2 separate regions of the Homo sapiens genome follow, and region 1 is linked to region 2. Evidence: promoter capture Hi-C in human tissues and cell types (Jung and others, 2019). All regions are on one chromosome and are shown on one strand. The core of a region is centred on a gene start or on the middle of the fragment in contact, and the rest is flanking DNA. Distances in the headings are between cores, read along the strand shown. Region 1 overlaps DSC2 (desmocollin 2). Region 2 holds the start of DSC3 (desmocollin 3).

Region 1 (7,656 bases), core at 775-3,274, 35 kb after region 2:
TATATTCAATAGAAACTTACAGGATAGACGGGGCACAGTGGCTCACGCCTGTAATCCCAGCACTTTGGGAAGCCGAGGTGGGCAGATCACCTGAGGTCAGGAGTTCGAGACCAGCCTGACCAACATGGAGAAAGCCTATCTCTACTAAAAATACAAAATTAGCCAGGCATGGTGGCACATGCCTATAATATCAGCTACTCGGGAGGTTGAGGCAAGAGAATCGCTTGAACCCGGGAGGCGGAGGTTGCAGTGAGCGGAGATCACACCATTGCACTCCAGCCTGGACAACAAAAGTGAAACTCCATCTCAAAACGAAAAAAAGAAAGAAAAGAAAAGAAAAGAAAGAAAGAAACTTACAGGATGACGACTTTATATAAAGCACTGCACTGGAAAATCTGGGGGATTCAAAGATGAAACAGCCATGGACCCACGCCACAGATTAGTAATGCAGTTGTGAAGTCTGAAACTGAACACAAACCCAGGAGTTCTGTCTCTAAATCATTCATTCTTTCTGTTTAAAAAGAAGGCTTTTGACATTACAGGTGGAAAACAGAATTTAAAAACCCTGTGCCATCCACTGCCTGGGGCTGTGTCTTATATGAAGCTGCCAAGCTCGGGAAGATCTCCGAGCACATCCCTGAAGTCACAACCTCAGCCAGAGCACCTGCAGCACAGCAACTAGACTCGTGATAGAGCCAGCGTCATCATGGGTCAGGAGCACTAGGCCACCAAGTTAAGAACTGGTTCTAAACCGTGGGCCACAGAGAAAGAGCAGGTGAAGGCAACTACAAGACTAGTAGTTAATATGGGCAAAGTGGGAGAGAGGGAAAAAACAAAAACAGAAAGCAAAGCAAACACCTCTCATTTAATATAAGCCTGCAAACTAAAATTCCCAAATAATCAAGATTAACACTAAGAAGGAAAACCAACAAAAGCACCAGTCAAAAGATTAATTCATTCTATCCAAGACGTCTCTGAAACAGGTATGTTTAGAATCTTCAAAGACATAAAGAGGGGTAACCAATTAAACAAGAATGAAATTACAGCTCAAATTCCAGTAGAAAATAAACAGCAACATTTACCTACCAGGGATTCTAAAAAAGAGAATAGACAGAATGGCAGAGAAGCAATAGTTAAAGAGATTAATAGCTGAGAATACTCCAGAATTAAAGAAAAACATGGCTTTTCAGATTGAAAGTATTTTCTGACTGCAGAACTAGACAAATATAAAAAAATCCACGGCATACACATTGTACTAACACTGTAGAACTCAATTTAGGGTACTATAAAAGCTACCTAAATATATTAACTACAAAAGGACAATCGTTAATCGACAGAACAAGAAGCATCAGCAAGAAGAGATACCAGAAGATAATGGGTTAATAGCTGCACAGTGCCATGGGAAAGAAGCTGTTGACTCAGAATTTTAAACCAAGTCAAAGTGTCACTTAAGTATGAGGCCAATATTAAAATATTTTTCAGAACAACAAAACTGAGAGAGTTTAAAATTCACATTCCACAATTGAAAAAAATATAGTAAAGGATGTACTTCAGCAAGAAGAAAAAAGAGCTAGGAGAGAAAACAATGAGAAGCAGGAAACAACGCAACTACCTTCCATTTTTGGACAACTTTGAAAAAGAGTATTTACATTAGAAAAAGGAAGCAGGTGGATAATATATATTTCATGTATCTGGCATATGTTTCTATTCATTAGAGCAGAATAATTTCTGTCCCTCAACTTCTCCTGTTCTCATGCTATGTGGTGTTACCTTGCTCTCTCTGAAAATTGGGACTGCTGGTTGTCTTGAACATTTGTTTCCCTTTGAGTCCACACACACAATTGAGAGCACATGCCTTACCTATTGAATCTGGTTAATTGTGCTATCTTTAAAAACTGAACTCTATAGTGCTTGCTCTTCTACAACTGGGATAAATGCTTCAATTTCCTTCCAGTAGATGTTTACAGTTGCTCACTGATTAAACTCCAATCTTTTTTTGCACATTGTGATTAATACTGTCATAGAAGAACATTTAAGACCTCAGATATCTAATCCACTGTGTTTCATAGCTGTTTTTCATATGCTGATGAGTTATACATACTGTTTTATTCATTGGAATGTCAGCATAAAATGCTCATCTTCTAGTAATAATATAATTCTACATGGACAAAGGCTAATTCCAAATATGAAGTCACATGAGGTGCACTATCCATGGTTTCATGCTTTATGTGCATGATGCTCTTCAGTCAAATGTTTTAAAATAGTTGCAAGTAACCCCATTCTAACAGCTGGAATAATACAATAGAAACATTAATCTCAAGCTCAACTAGATAGAGGTGATTTCTGGGTAAAGCTGCCCACACAATTTAGATTAAGAAGTTAAGAAGAAAAGATAAATTGAATTTAAAGCTTAAGAAATATATATGTTTAGGAGAGGGGAAGGCAGTTAAGACCAGAAAGCATGCAGGAATGTGTGGGCAAGTTTAGACATAGAAGCCTTGAGAGAGAGTTTTAAAAAGAGGAAGCAATTGCTGCGGAGATGTAGGAAGGCAGGAAGTGAGCACCAGCCCAAGACAGCAGTATCCATGAGGGAGGAGAGGTTTCCATTAGGGAGTGGCAGGGAGAACCCAAATGAAATTAGCCAGTATAGATTTTAGAAAAAGGTTTTTCAAAAAATGACACACTTTTGTATAATCTCATTTCATTCAATTCACAAAGTAAACACATGTGGAATTACTGATTCACAGTTCTCTCACACAGAGTAACACAATGACTCCCACCCTCTTCAAAAGAAATGAATGCGAACAGCCTCATTACACATTTATTCTATATCACAATGATGATAAGCAGTGCCCCATCTCAATTCCATAACAAATATTTGATCTCTCAATCACTTAAACTCCTCTGCAACAGACGAGAATGTAGAATAAAATTATAGGCAAAATTTCTAATTTCAGACAGCAATTTTTATCTCAACTGTCAATAAACTATTTCCAAGTGCCGTTGAGTTTCATGTTTTTTTTTTCTTTTCATTTGCCTTTGACCAACAAGTATTTCTTGGCAAAAAGACATGAGAATCTGAGGCCTTAAAGGACAGTCTTTAATTAGTTAAAGACAAATCAATAATGATTACAACTTCAGCAATTTAACAAACTGAGTCATTTCTCATTAATTTACAGAGAACTGGAATACATAAATCATCTTCCAAAATCACTTCTAAATTCTAATTTTGCAAGTTATAGTATAATAATTTGTTTGTTATATTTAGCATATTTATTTTACAAAGACATAAAGTTCAAATTCATGTTATAGAAATTATATTTTATGCACCAAACGCGTCTCATAAATAATCATCATACTCATATTTCTCTCAATTTTATAGAATGCACAGAACATAATTTTACATTTTATATGATTATATGAATTCATAGTGTTTGTCTCTCTAATTTTATAATATACTATTTATTTACCATGATCATAAATATACCATGATTTATTTTTATATAATGTCTTTAATCAGAATTCTAACCCCCAAGTATATTGTTAGCTTCCTGTAAAAAGTTAGAGCTGTTTTCCAGGACTGCACTGTGTAAGTATGTTTTCCAGGACTGCACTATGTAAGTATGTTCTCACTTTCCTACAAAGTGAACACTTTAAGCGAAATAAGTAGATAAACTGAAACAAGTTTTGTTTTTGTTTTTGTTTTGTTTTTGTTTTTGTTTTTGTTTTGAGACAGAGTCTTACTCTGTCGCCCAGGCTAGAGTGCAGTGGCGCGATCTTGGCTAACTGCAACCTCCACCTCCTGGGTTCAAGCAATTCTCCTGCCTCAGCCTCCCGAGTAGCTCGGATTACAGGTGCATGCCACTACACCCAGCTAATTTTTAATATTTTTGGTAGAGACGGGATTTCACCATGTTGGCCAGGCTGGTCTCGAACTCATGACCTCAAGTGATCCTCCAGCCTTAGCCTCCCAAAGTGCTGGGATTACAGGCATGAGCCACCACACCCAGCTGAAACAAGTTTTACTAAAATAATTTTCTCAATTTTTAATAATTTTAACTTTAATAAATTATGGTCTCAAGTGTTTCTAAGAGTAAATTATTTTATAATTACATCTAAAACTGAGAAGGCTATTAGAAAGCAGACATGAGTTAATAAATTATAGTAAACCTCTTACTTTATATTATCAAGAGATATGAAAACAGAGTGCATGTATCCAGCTTTAAAATGTATACTGTTGGCTTAAACACTGAAGATGTATGTAGCCAAGGAAGTATGTAGCTGGCTTAAAGACAAATTCTTACCTTGGTCTGATGCAAGGACTGTAATATTATATATGCCATTTTTGATGGTCTCTGCCTCTCTATCCAGGCTTCTGAAAACTTTGATTGATCCTGTATTTTCATCAATGGTGACCCACCCTGTTGGATCAGTTAATTTCTTATACCTGTTGGTAATGATGAATTAAAATAATAAAATTTATCATATGCTAAATTATAATAACGTAACAAAATAAGCTATATATTTTAAAACTAAAATAGAATGGTAAGTACCTTATGCCACTGCTACTTCTTGTTTCTGGGTCATATGCTTTATATCCATTGCTTGTTGTTCCCACTTCTGCATTTTCTTTCATGCGAACAGTCTGTATTGGAGGGTTACACTCAGGGCCCTCATCCTGATCTTCTACATTAACAGTAACTGTTGCTGTGCTCATGGCTGATCTTGGACTAGCCTCTCTGGAAAATGGAGCTTCATTAACTACACCAATTTGCAAGATCATCTGTTGCTTTTCTTCATAATTCAAAGGCTACGAAAGCAAATGTATTGAAAAATCAGATGAACTCATTTAATATTTGGCAATGCTAACGAGTATATATAATGTTAAATTTGGAAATATGTTAAGTGTCATGTTGGGAATAACCACGAGAATATGAAACATATATCCAGTGATATGGTTTGGCTCTGTGTCGCCACCCACATCTCATGTCAAATTGTAATTCCCAATGTTGGGGGAGGGACCTGAGGGAAGGTGATTGGATCATGGGGGTGGATTTCCCCACTGCTCATGATAGTGAGTGAGTTCTCACAAGATCTGGTTGTTCAAAAGTGTGTAGCACATCCCCCTTTGCTCTGTCTCTCCTGTTGCCATGTGAAGATGGGCTTGCTTCCCCTTTGCCTTCCGCCATGATTATAAGTTTCCTGAGGCCTACCTAGTCATGCCTCCTACACAGCCTGTGGAACTGCGAGTCAGTTAAACCTCTTTTGTTTATAAACTATCCAGTCTCAGGTAGTTCTTTATAACAATGTGAGAACAGACTAATACACCCAGAAACCCAGTGGTGGTGGAGACAGAGGAGTTCTCCCACTGATTCAGTACTTGGGTAAAGCTGGAAAAAAAAAAGGACAGAAAATTGTTCTTCAACTGCAAATTTAAGATAAGTAGTATAACAGGTATTGATGAAGATTTCAGAGAGTATTTAATGAGGGTTCTTGGATATTAATACATGAGATACTCCTTTAGGGGATTCATACTATAAACAATAGTTATTTACTACAAAATAAATTTTAGGACAGCTTGTCTTACCCTCCTAAGATGAATAAAATTATTTGTACCTGGTATGAGGAAGAGAAAAAAATGGGTAAATTTTTTTAAAATGCTTTTAAGAGGAGCAAGACAAGAAAATACAAAGCTTATGGGCATCATATTTTCTTTTTTTATGTGTGTCTTCCATTCCAGTTCCTGTCTTAAAGACGGGAACATATTTAATAAAAGGTTTTATTTTATCTTGCCTGATATGTAGTTGTAATGAGAATTAGTGAAACCATGCCCTAGAAGACAGAAATTTTTTCAGGTCTTGGACTTCACACAAATTTCCTTCTGAGAATACCAAGGATTAGGGGAGGGGTTAGGTGAAGAAAGAGACAAGATTTAAAGGAAATTTCTCTGCTATTTTAAAATAGAGAAAATAATATAAAAACAGCAGCTGATTTTCATCATTGTAAGGAAAATGGATTCATCATTTTTTAATCCATGGTCCTTGTGAATATATACAAAAAGAAAACGGCATAGACCCACTGTAAAACCATGTTCTGGTTAAAGATGCAGCAGAAATAAGTCTATAAATTTGTCCAAGGCTAAAGGAGCTCAGATTGCTTTATGCACTAACTCTGGCTGCTGAAATAGTATTAGAAAGAAGTTTTAGAAGTGTTTGCATTGTTGAATCACTGAGGATTTTCATTCTGAACCTGGATGCTAAGGATGTAATATATACTGAATATGATGAACAAACCTATGAATAACCTCTCCATGGGGCTGACCAAGAGTAACTCTTGATTTGGGAAATTCAGTAAGTAAATAAAGGCTCCTTGACCCAAACACAGAAAAACTGGGCTAGGAAAAGTCTGGCACTGTCCCAGGGGCATCAAAGCTGTGCTAGTTTTTGAACCATTTAAAGATATTGGTTACAAAATAGATATTGTATTATATGGACTTTTTAAAAAAAAAAATACCTAAACAAAAGATTATCAAAAACTAATATATTCTTTCCATTGTATATGAAGAACAGAGCATTTGCATTTACTTATATACCTATTTTATTCTACATTTATCAGAATTCCTTTCTTTCCATTAAATTCTAGCATGCTATTCTATGATATTATAAACTACAAATAATGTTCTAATTTATTCTTACCTTAACTACACAAAGAACTCCTTCATTGGTTTTGGCATCTGTTACAATTTTAAAATTGCCATTTTCATTGCCCTTTAAAATGGTATAATTAGCTCTCCAGTTAGCAGTATTCACTAAGTCCTTATCCTCAACAGTAACTCGTAAGATTTCCACATCAACTGTATTTTCTTCCACTGATGTCACATACTAAAATAATAAAAGCAAACAAAAAATTTCGTTAGTAACTCTCACAAAAATTGAACACGATGTGAAGTAAATCCTACTCTTCTAATTTCCAAAGTACTATGTTTACATGATTTGAAACCCTAGCACTATACAACTTTTAATGTCACTGGGGCACTTCATTTGAAATCATGAGGGGTGGATGGGGATGTGCATTTTTTTCTTTTCCTTCACTGCAACCTCTGCCTTCCACGTTCAGGCGATTCTCCTGCCTCAGCTTCCCGAGTAGATGGGATTACAGGTGCCTGTCACCATGCCCGGCTAATTTTTGTATTTTCTGTAGAGACGGGATTTCACCATGTTGGCCAGGCTGTTCTCAAACTCCTGACCTCAGGTGATCCGCCCGCCTCGGCCTCCCAAAGTGCTGAGATTACAGGCGTGAGCCACTGCGCCAGGCCAGAGATGTGCATATTAAACAATTAAAACTGGTCTATACATTTTTCTTTAATTAATATCATACACTTACAGAAGTACGAGTAAATGTTGGCAAGTGGTCATTTACATCATCAATGTTAATGATACAAGTTGAAGTTGTCTGTAGACCAAAATACTGACCATCCATGTCTTGTACTTTTATTTTCAACTGGTACTTGTCAATTAACTGAAAACAAAAAAAGAATTTAATTATTGGGGGAAAGCACCAACATTATAATTGAAATCTTACTTTACACTCCATAATTTTTTTGCACTAAGAATTTAAGAAGTGCATTATTACATTTCACAGCATTCGTGTATTAGA
Region 2 (6,851 bases), core at 2,531-5,030:
ATGTTTTTGTGAGGTTTGGATGCCTTATTGAAAACAAAATAAAGTAAAAAATGTAAAGACACTAGTATATTAATGATGAACTAATGACCTTTAAAGATATTTTATAATAAAAATAACTTCTGTATACAAGAATGCCCATATTTTAAATTAAAATATAACAAACTTTAAAGATGATAATATAAAGTATTACCTACTGCAGCCTAAGCAAAATAGTTTTGTTGCATTTTATAGTACTAAGCAAATTGTATTAATTGCATGATAGAAACCTTATCAGACGAATCATTAAATCCTGATGGAAAAATTTAATGCCAAAGAGAGAACGAAAATTAAAGGTGTTATCTGCAGTTGTTTCACTTTCATGCTGTTGTTTAATTTTATAGTAAATACACAAAGTAGGCTTTCTAAAATGACACCCTACTTCAGTAGAGAAGAAAAAGAATGGAAATTTATGGAATGTCTTAAATGTGAAGAGGATCTTCTGGATTAAACACAATAATTACAGAATTTTAAACTCTTCATTTCTCCTGTGGCCATAAGTCTTCTGCAGAATGGAAATATTACCTTTCAAATTCTTACCACTTCAAAGGTAAATTGCAAGATTTACTGCTCTACATTCTCAGTACTTAAATGAGTCTAATAAATTTGTTTCCACCCAAACTCATTGTAAGATGGGAATTCCAGCTATCATACTTTCAGCGGAAAGTATGATTAACTACAGGTCACCACAGATACCATATATGGTACAGGACTGCCATGGGAATTACAACAGGATCCAAAAATGTGCATGAGCTTACATTTATTTATTCAGAACGTGCTTCCGTATCTAGCTGTATCTCAACAGGAACATCAACAATCTCCTTTTAATAAGGTAGCTGATAATGCATCAATCTAAATATACGTATACTATAATTTTGACTTTTTTAAGCTTGCAGTTTTAAAACTAGTTTTCATCTACTTCCTTTATTTGCCTTAATCTTCTTGTCACAAATGTAAAAGCCTTTAGAAATTACTATACTCCCTTTTAATTTAAAATGATGAATATATCAAATATTACCAAGAGCAAAAACATCACAAGTTTTTCTGGTAAGGACTCACATTATTCACATTAACCCTAACAAATATAAAAATTTGGATGCCTATTTATCAACATAGGTTGCAGGCAGAGTTCATATACTCCAAAGAGGAAAAGTACAGATTTGAGGGGAGTTATTGCAAACGTTTCAACTATTTTAGTTCCTTTAGAAGAGGAGCCCTTTTAACAAAATGATGGATTAGCCGTGTCCAAGTATGTGCCATTTATAATGTATACTAGATAACATAATCTTAAAGTGGATTTGATAACAGTATTAACACATATTTTTAAAAGAATCTTATTATTTGTAACAGGCAGAAGACAACTGATCTCATGTAAATTAGTTTCCACCATCCCTAACAATTCTGGTTACATTAAGAGGAAAAAACACTTTCTGAGGCAATCAAAAACTTACAATAGTGAGTGAGATGCTCTGATATACTTCTTTTTTTAGTATCTCCCTGTCATTTTTTTCTTTGTGCGTGTGATTATTAGAAACTGTATTTACACTTCAGAGTGTGGTGGGGCACACGGTGGGAAGGAGATACAGGAAAAATGCAGAATGGGAAAATTCCCTCAACCTGTTGGGCTGCTTACTGGGAAGACTAAAATTTAACAAGTCTCAGATTCTTGTTAAAGACTTGCTTTGAAAAGCTGTCTCCTTAGAACAAACAATGTTTTAAAGATAAGTAATGGTTTAAAGATATCCATTAAAGTCTCTATAAAATGAAAAATGTTTCTAAAATGCCGTGTCATTAATATTATATTGAAAAGTTGAGAGTCGTATGAGTCAAAAGGAAGGAAATACATACATGAGATGGTCAAGAGAAGTGTTAATTTACCCATCCGGTCCGAAATTGCAAGTGTTTGTAAACTGACAATTGCAGATGAAATAGTCATTTTCTGTGCACTTTCCGGTATTTAAGTCTCCAGATACAGCATTTAACCTAAACTCAACGGAATTATTTTAAAAAAAAAAAATCTTAAACGAGTATGTGCTAGATCAAAGCTGAAGCTTCCTCCGTTTAGATTTACGCGCACCTTCTTCCTTGCCACAGCTCGACACCCCCACCCATGCCTTGCCGGGAAAGCTCCTGGTCTTCCATGGCCTCTGGGAGCCTCGAGCGAATGCGAGAAATTCTGAGAGCAGCACCCGTAGTTTCGTTCCCCATCCTCAATCCCTTCGCAAAGGAAACACAAAACCCCAAATGCATGCTTGTAAACTGAAAAGCTGAAAATGCTTTTAAATATATTACAAAAGAACACATTCTCTAAGCCGTTTCCATTTGTAGTCACTTCATAAGCTCAGATACTTTGTTGGAACAGTTCCCGGGCAAATGGATGCGCTTATTTGTCCAATTCCTTCTCCATAAACATATCGTAGATCATAACTACCAATCCCATATTCATACCTCGCTGACCTTAAGGGAGGACAACCCTTGGACCCACTCCCACTTGCCAGGGTGGAGGGCCAGGAAGCAGTAAGAATCCGCGAGACCAGACTCGGCTCACTGCCGACGCGGGTATAGACCTCGCTCCCATCGGACCCCATGCGCATCCATGGATGCGGGTAAGTCGCGGGTCCGCGGCTCCTTTCTGGGCGTGCGGAATGAAACTCTGTTGAAGCCTGAAGCTTCGCGTGTAACCGCGCCGCCAGAGTTCCGAACACTTCAAGTCTCCCGTGTTCTCAGAGCATCGTCTCTAACTTCCTCTCCTAGAGGATTTCGTCCTGGGCGGCAGGTTTCCGTAGACTCGAAACCCCAGGCTGTGCTCCGGCCGCGCAGTCCTCCCCGGAGCCGGAGTAAGTACGACGCAACCCCACCGCATCCATCATCCCCCACCACTGTCACCCTCTACCCGCCTCCACACCTCGGCAGCATCCCCAAAACACAACACGACCCCAACCCCCATTCTGGCCCGGTCTTCCCACACTTTCGCGCCCCCGGCACATCCCGCCCCCAGCTGGGTGGCTGGCGGGGGTGGACCGCTTGGGTGAGCTTCTGAATACCCTTTAGGGGAGATACCGAGAAACCCACTTCTCAGGGGCAGCCCCACCAAGGGACCCAGGGACACAGCCCCGGCTCCACTCACTAACGAACCAATCCGGGTCAACTGCGACCCAGAGCTGGGGAGGGGGCAGCCCCTAAATCCCTTTTCAAGTCTGTGCTTTGAGCTCTCAGGGATCCTCTCCACCCAAAGGCGCCCTCCAACCACCATCACCACCAGCTCCACCACCTGGGGAGAAGCGTGAATCCCAACCCCCTGCCCAACCCGCGACGGCGCCCGCCAGAGCGCAGCGAAGCCTGAGCGCGACTCAGAATTCCAACAATCGAACACCTTGTCTCAAAACAAAAAGCTCAGTCCAGAGTCGACCCGCAAACACACGTTTTCTCTCCTCACTCCTGCAGGCCCGAACTTGGGGCTGCTACCAGACCCGCAGCATTGATCTGAGCCGCGGTTGTCACGTTTCGGCCCGCTTTGTCCCCAGCTCCGTGCAGCGTCCAGGGCGGATCCACCCCCGTCCCCACCCCAGCCCTATCCGGCGAGATCTGGCTTACCACGAGGGTCAGCAGCAGATGCAGGCAGACGGCTCCGCGCACGGAGCGCCGGGGCCCAGCGGCGGCCATCGGGATGCCGGGCAGGGCCAGGAGAACGCGGGCGCCGGGAGGGTGCCGAGAGCGAGACCTGCCGAGGTGCAGGGCGCGGGAGGTGCTTTTCTCGCCGCTGCTTGTTTTTAAGTGTATTTGGCCTCTCTCAGGCTTGCCTGCCCGGGAGCAACTTCACTTCTGAAACCGGATTGGACCCAGAGGACGCGGAGAGGCCACTCCTTGTTATTTCTCAAGTTTTATCATCGCCGGCGCGGCTGAGGAGCTGCCCGAGCCTGCCCCTCTGCTCCCCAGCAGCCACCCGGGCGTTCGCGCTCGGGAAAGCGGTCTCTGGCGCACCCTCTGCCAGTTCTCCCACGCCCCTCGGCTGCCCCGCGGCGCTGCCGCCCCGCCCGGCCCGCAGAGAGGCCCTGGCAGCCCAGATCGTCCCAGGGCGGCCCCATCGCCGGCGCTGCGCGGTGCATCTCAATGCAGAACCCCAATCCGCCCGCAGGGATCCCTGCCTCGACACGGGCTCTGCTGGATGCCAGGAACACCCTTGTCATTGGATCAGCGGATCTCCCCTTCGACGTCTGAACAAATTCTGCCAATGTTTTCAGATTAAAGCAAAATACATGTACTGTATTCTCTCCGGATTTGACTAACATGACAAAATACACGACAGAAGGAATTTATCCCAGATGGCATGATAAACAGTTTTTGGCATGTCAGAAATTAAAACCAAATTTAAGAAATTCTAATCTAACCATTTTTACGCACCCAAAATATGAGTGATTACACTCAGCGCTCTATTAACTGTCAGTTTGGGGGACTCATATGAACCTTCTAAAAACGACTTTGTTCTTAGATGTGAATTATTGGTTTACTACTTACTGGTACCAAAATGAAATTTTTCAGGTGGTCAAAGGAATATCTACCACACAAAACCTTCTAAAACGAGGCTTACAGATTCTACATCATGCAACGACTATTTATCAGGGCCCGAAGTCGGCCAAGCTTTGTGTGAGGGCATGGAAGAAAGGAAATGCAGAAAATCTAGTTCCTGTCGGAAATAATTCAAAGTCAGAAAGGGACGAAAGACAATCATTCCTAGCCCAGTAGGCTACACTTTTTAATAGAGATGTCGTTTGTAACACCAGGGGGACATCCTCTTATTTCTCCCTAAACTGAATTTTAAGTTCCCCGAGTTCCCATCTACTGGATTCAGGAGGAAATCCCTCTCAGACATGAGATGCTACTCCTCGAAGTCCATTCAAAAGTTGCAAGGTCGGGAATTTCAGACAGCCAATTAATCATGAAAGGGTGTTATGACCTTCATTCATCTCACTCTGGCTCAAGTCTAATAGACTCCTCGTCGTCTAAGCCATGTATTCCCTGAAGTCTGGGGCTTCCCTGAAACTCATGAGGCTCAGCTTTAAGGGCTCAGACACTCTAAGTTGAGCTTCCCAGTGTGAATCTCCCAGGCACCCGTCAGTGGAGGTCTCTGTATGTAAGAGCTCTTCCAGTCTCAGAGAAAGTTCTCCAAACTTCTCTCCACTCCAGGGTTTTCACCTCCCATCCTCCACGTGCCTCCAGCATGACCTCAGAGAAAGCTTCTCAAAGTCACTTCCAGCCCCCCAGCCCTCAGAAACTCAAGTAGAATGGTTTTCTTGAACTTAGATGAGTAAAGGAGATGGCTAGCACCAATCTCCCTCCCTCACCACTTTGAATTCACTGTTAGAGTGAAGGGTTGAGGTGTTAAGGCATTTTAGAGGAGAGGATCTAACTTAGCTGAAGAAAGCTTTGAAGAAGCAAAATGTTGCGATAAGCCCAGCAAAGAAAAGGGAAAGGGTAGGAGAATGCTTCAAGATAACACAACATCAACAGGACATGAGAAGCTCTGGAGAGCCTTGTGAGAGTGCCCCAGGGTAAGAAAGCAGAAAGGGGTTGGTTCAGAATGGTTACATGCAATGGCTGGGAATTCGGTTAGAAAGATGGTTCATGACAAACCATGCTGAGGAATTTAATTTCATCCTGACAGAAATGGAGAACCATCCATTCAATGTGTGAAAAGGGTTAGTAACTACTGTTACAAAATTGTCACTTTTGGTGAGTTTGCACATATGAACCCATTTGTGCTGTAATATGGCTTTCTTTAATACCTAGGGAATGAAAGACTTTGAAGTGTTTGTCTTTATTCTAACTATTCTTAGTTTTTCTATGATTTCAACTCTATCTTCAGATTTATGAGAGTCTGGCCTGGTTAGGACTGTCCTTTGAAAGACTAAAACTCTAAAATTGCTATCCCCTGATTATTTTGACTGTGCTGTGTAATAGAGGATATTTATTGTTAAGCCTACTGACTAATATGACAATTGCTGTGAGCTTCCATTTTTAGCTTCCGCAAAATAAAAGTTGTAGGAATCTGCTTTAGAAAAACTCGAAGAAAACATATTATGGATATTTTTAACTTGTATTGCAAAATTCTAGGTGCAATACGAACATTAATAACTGAATGTAGTATTAGTAATGATTTTGGAATTTCCTGTTTGTCCACCATGAGTATATTAATCTAAGTCCTAATAAAAAGCAATGCATTTTTATCATATAAAGAAGAATCTTTACAACATAAATATGACTTGAGGATAAATTAAATTGCTTATATTTTTTGCTTATATTTTCCCATATAAATTATGATTTAAAATAGTTTGTTGATTTTTTTTCAAATATGAGCTTCAGTTTAGATATAGTTAGAACTGGATGCTTTCTATTATAAAATTAATTTTAAATCATCATGAGGTATCATAAAGCATAAAGAGTTTTCTGAACTGTCTTTATCTTAATACCCTATCCCTCAAACTGCAAAGTCAGTTGGAAGTCACTGCTAAAAGGATAATGAGCCAAAATGGGAAAATAATTTATTATTTTCCCTTGTTATGTTCTTAGTTTGAAGGGTAAGAGCAGCAATAACAAAGGATCAAAAATGGGAATTGACTTTAGACTAAAGAACAAAACTTCAGAAATTCAGGTGAATTGCAACATTTTCAGCAGAAAGCAAACAAGATAATGAAGAAGAGTACTCTTACTCTGGACCTATGAGAAATCTCTGACTACGGAAGAGCTAACTAGTCTTAGGAGGTGGGACCTGACCTCTGGCCCACGAGCCAGGCTGCCTTGCACAACTCAGCACCAAC

The links. Contacts are between HindIII fragments. The study calls those that stand out against the background at their distance.
Region 1: a fragment that was not itself captured here is called in contact with the fragment with the promoter of DSC3 in region 2 in 2 of the 25 tissues and cell types used here (H1 embryonic stem cells and mesenchymal stem cells).

The regions. Positions count from the first base shown.
Region 1 is chr18:31,075,543-31,083,198 of GRCh38, forward strand. DSC2 (desmocollin 2) reads right to left here. Exons shown (of 16, transcript NM_024422.6): 8 at 7,384-7,518; 9 at 6,696-6,881; 10 at 4,554-4,810; 11 at 4,305-4,447. Among named protein-coding and RNA genes, the nearest start is that of DSCAS, 22 kb to the right of the region's middle. The HindIII fragment of the contact is 4,053 bases long and covers 1-4,051 here.
Region 2 is chr18:31,038,962-31,045,812 of GRCh38, forward strand. DSC3 (desmocollin 3) reads right to left here and starts at 3,781. Exons shown (of 16, transcript NM_001941.5): 1 at 3,631-3,781. The coding sequence starts at 3,699. LOC124904345 (a long non-coding RNA gene) reads left to right here and starts at 2,572. Exons shown (of 2, transcript XR_007066445.1): 1 at 2,572-2,873; 2 at 3,481-6,265. The HindIII fragment of the contact is 2,576 bases long and covers 2,397-4,972 here.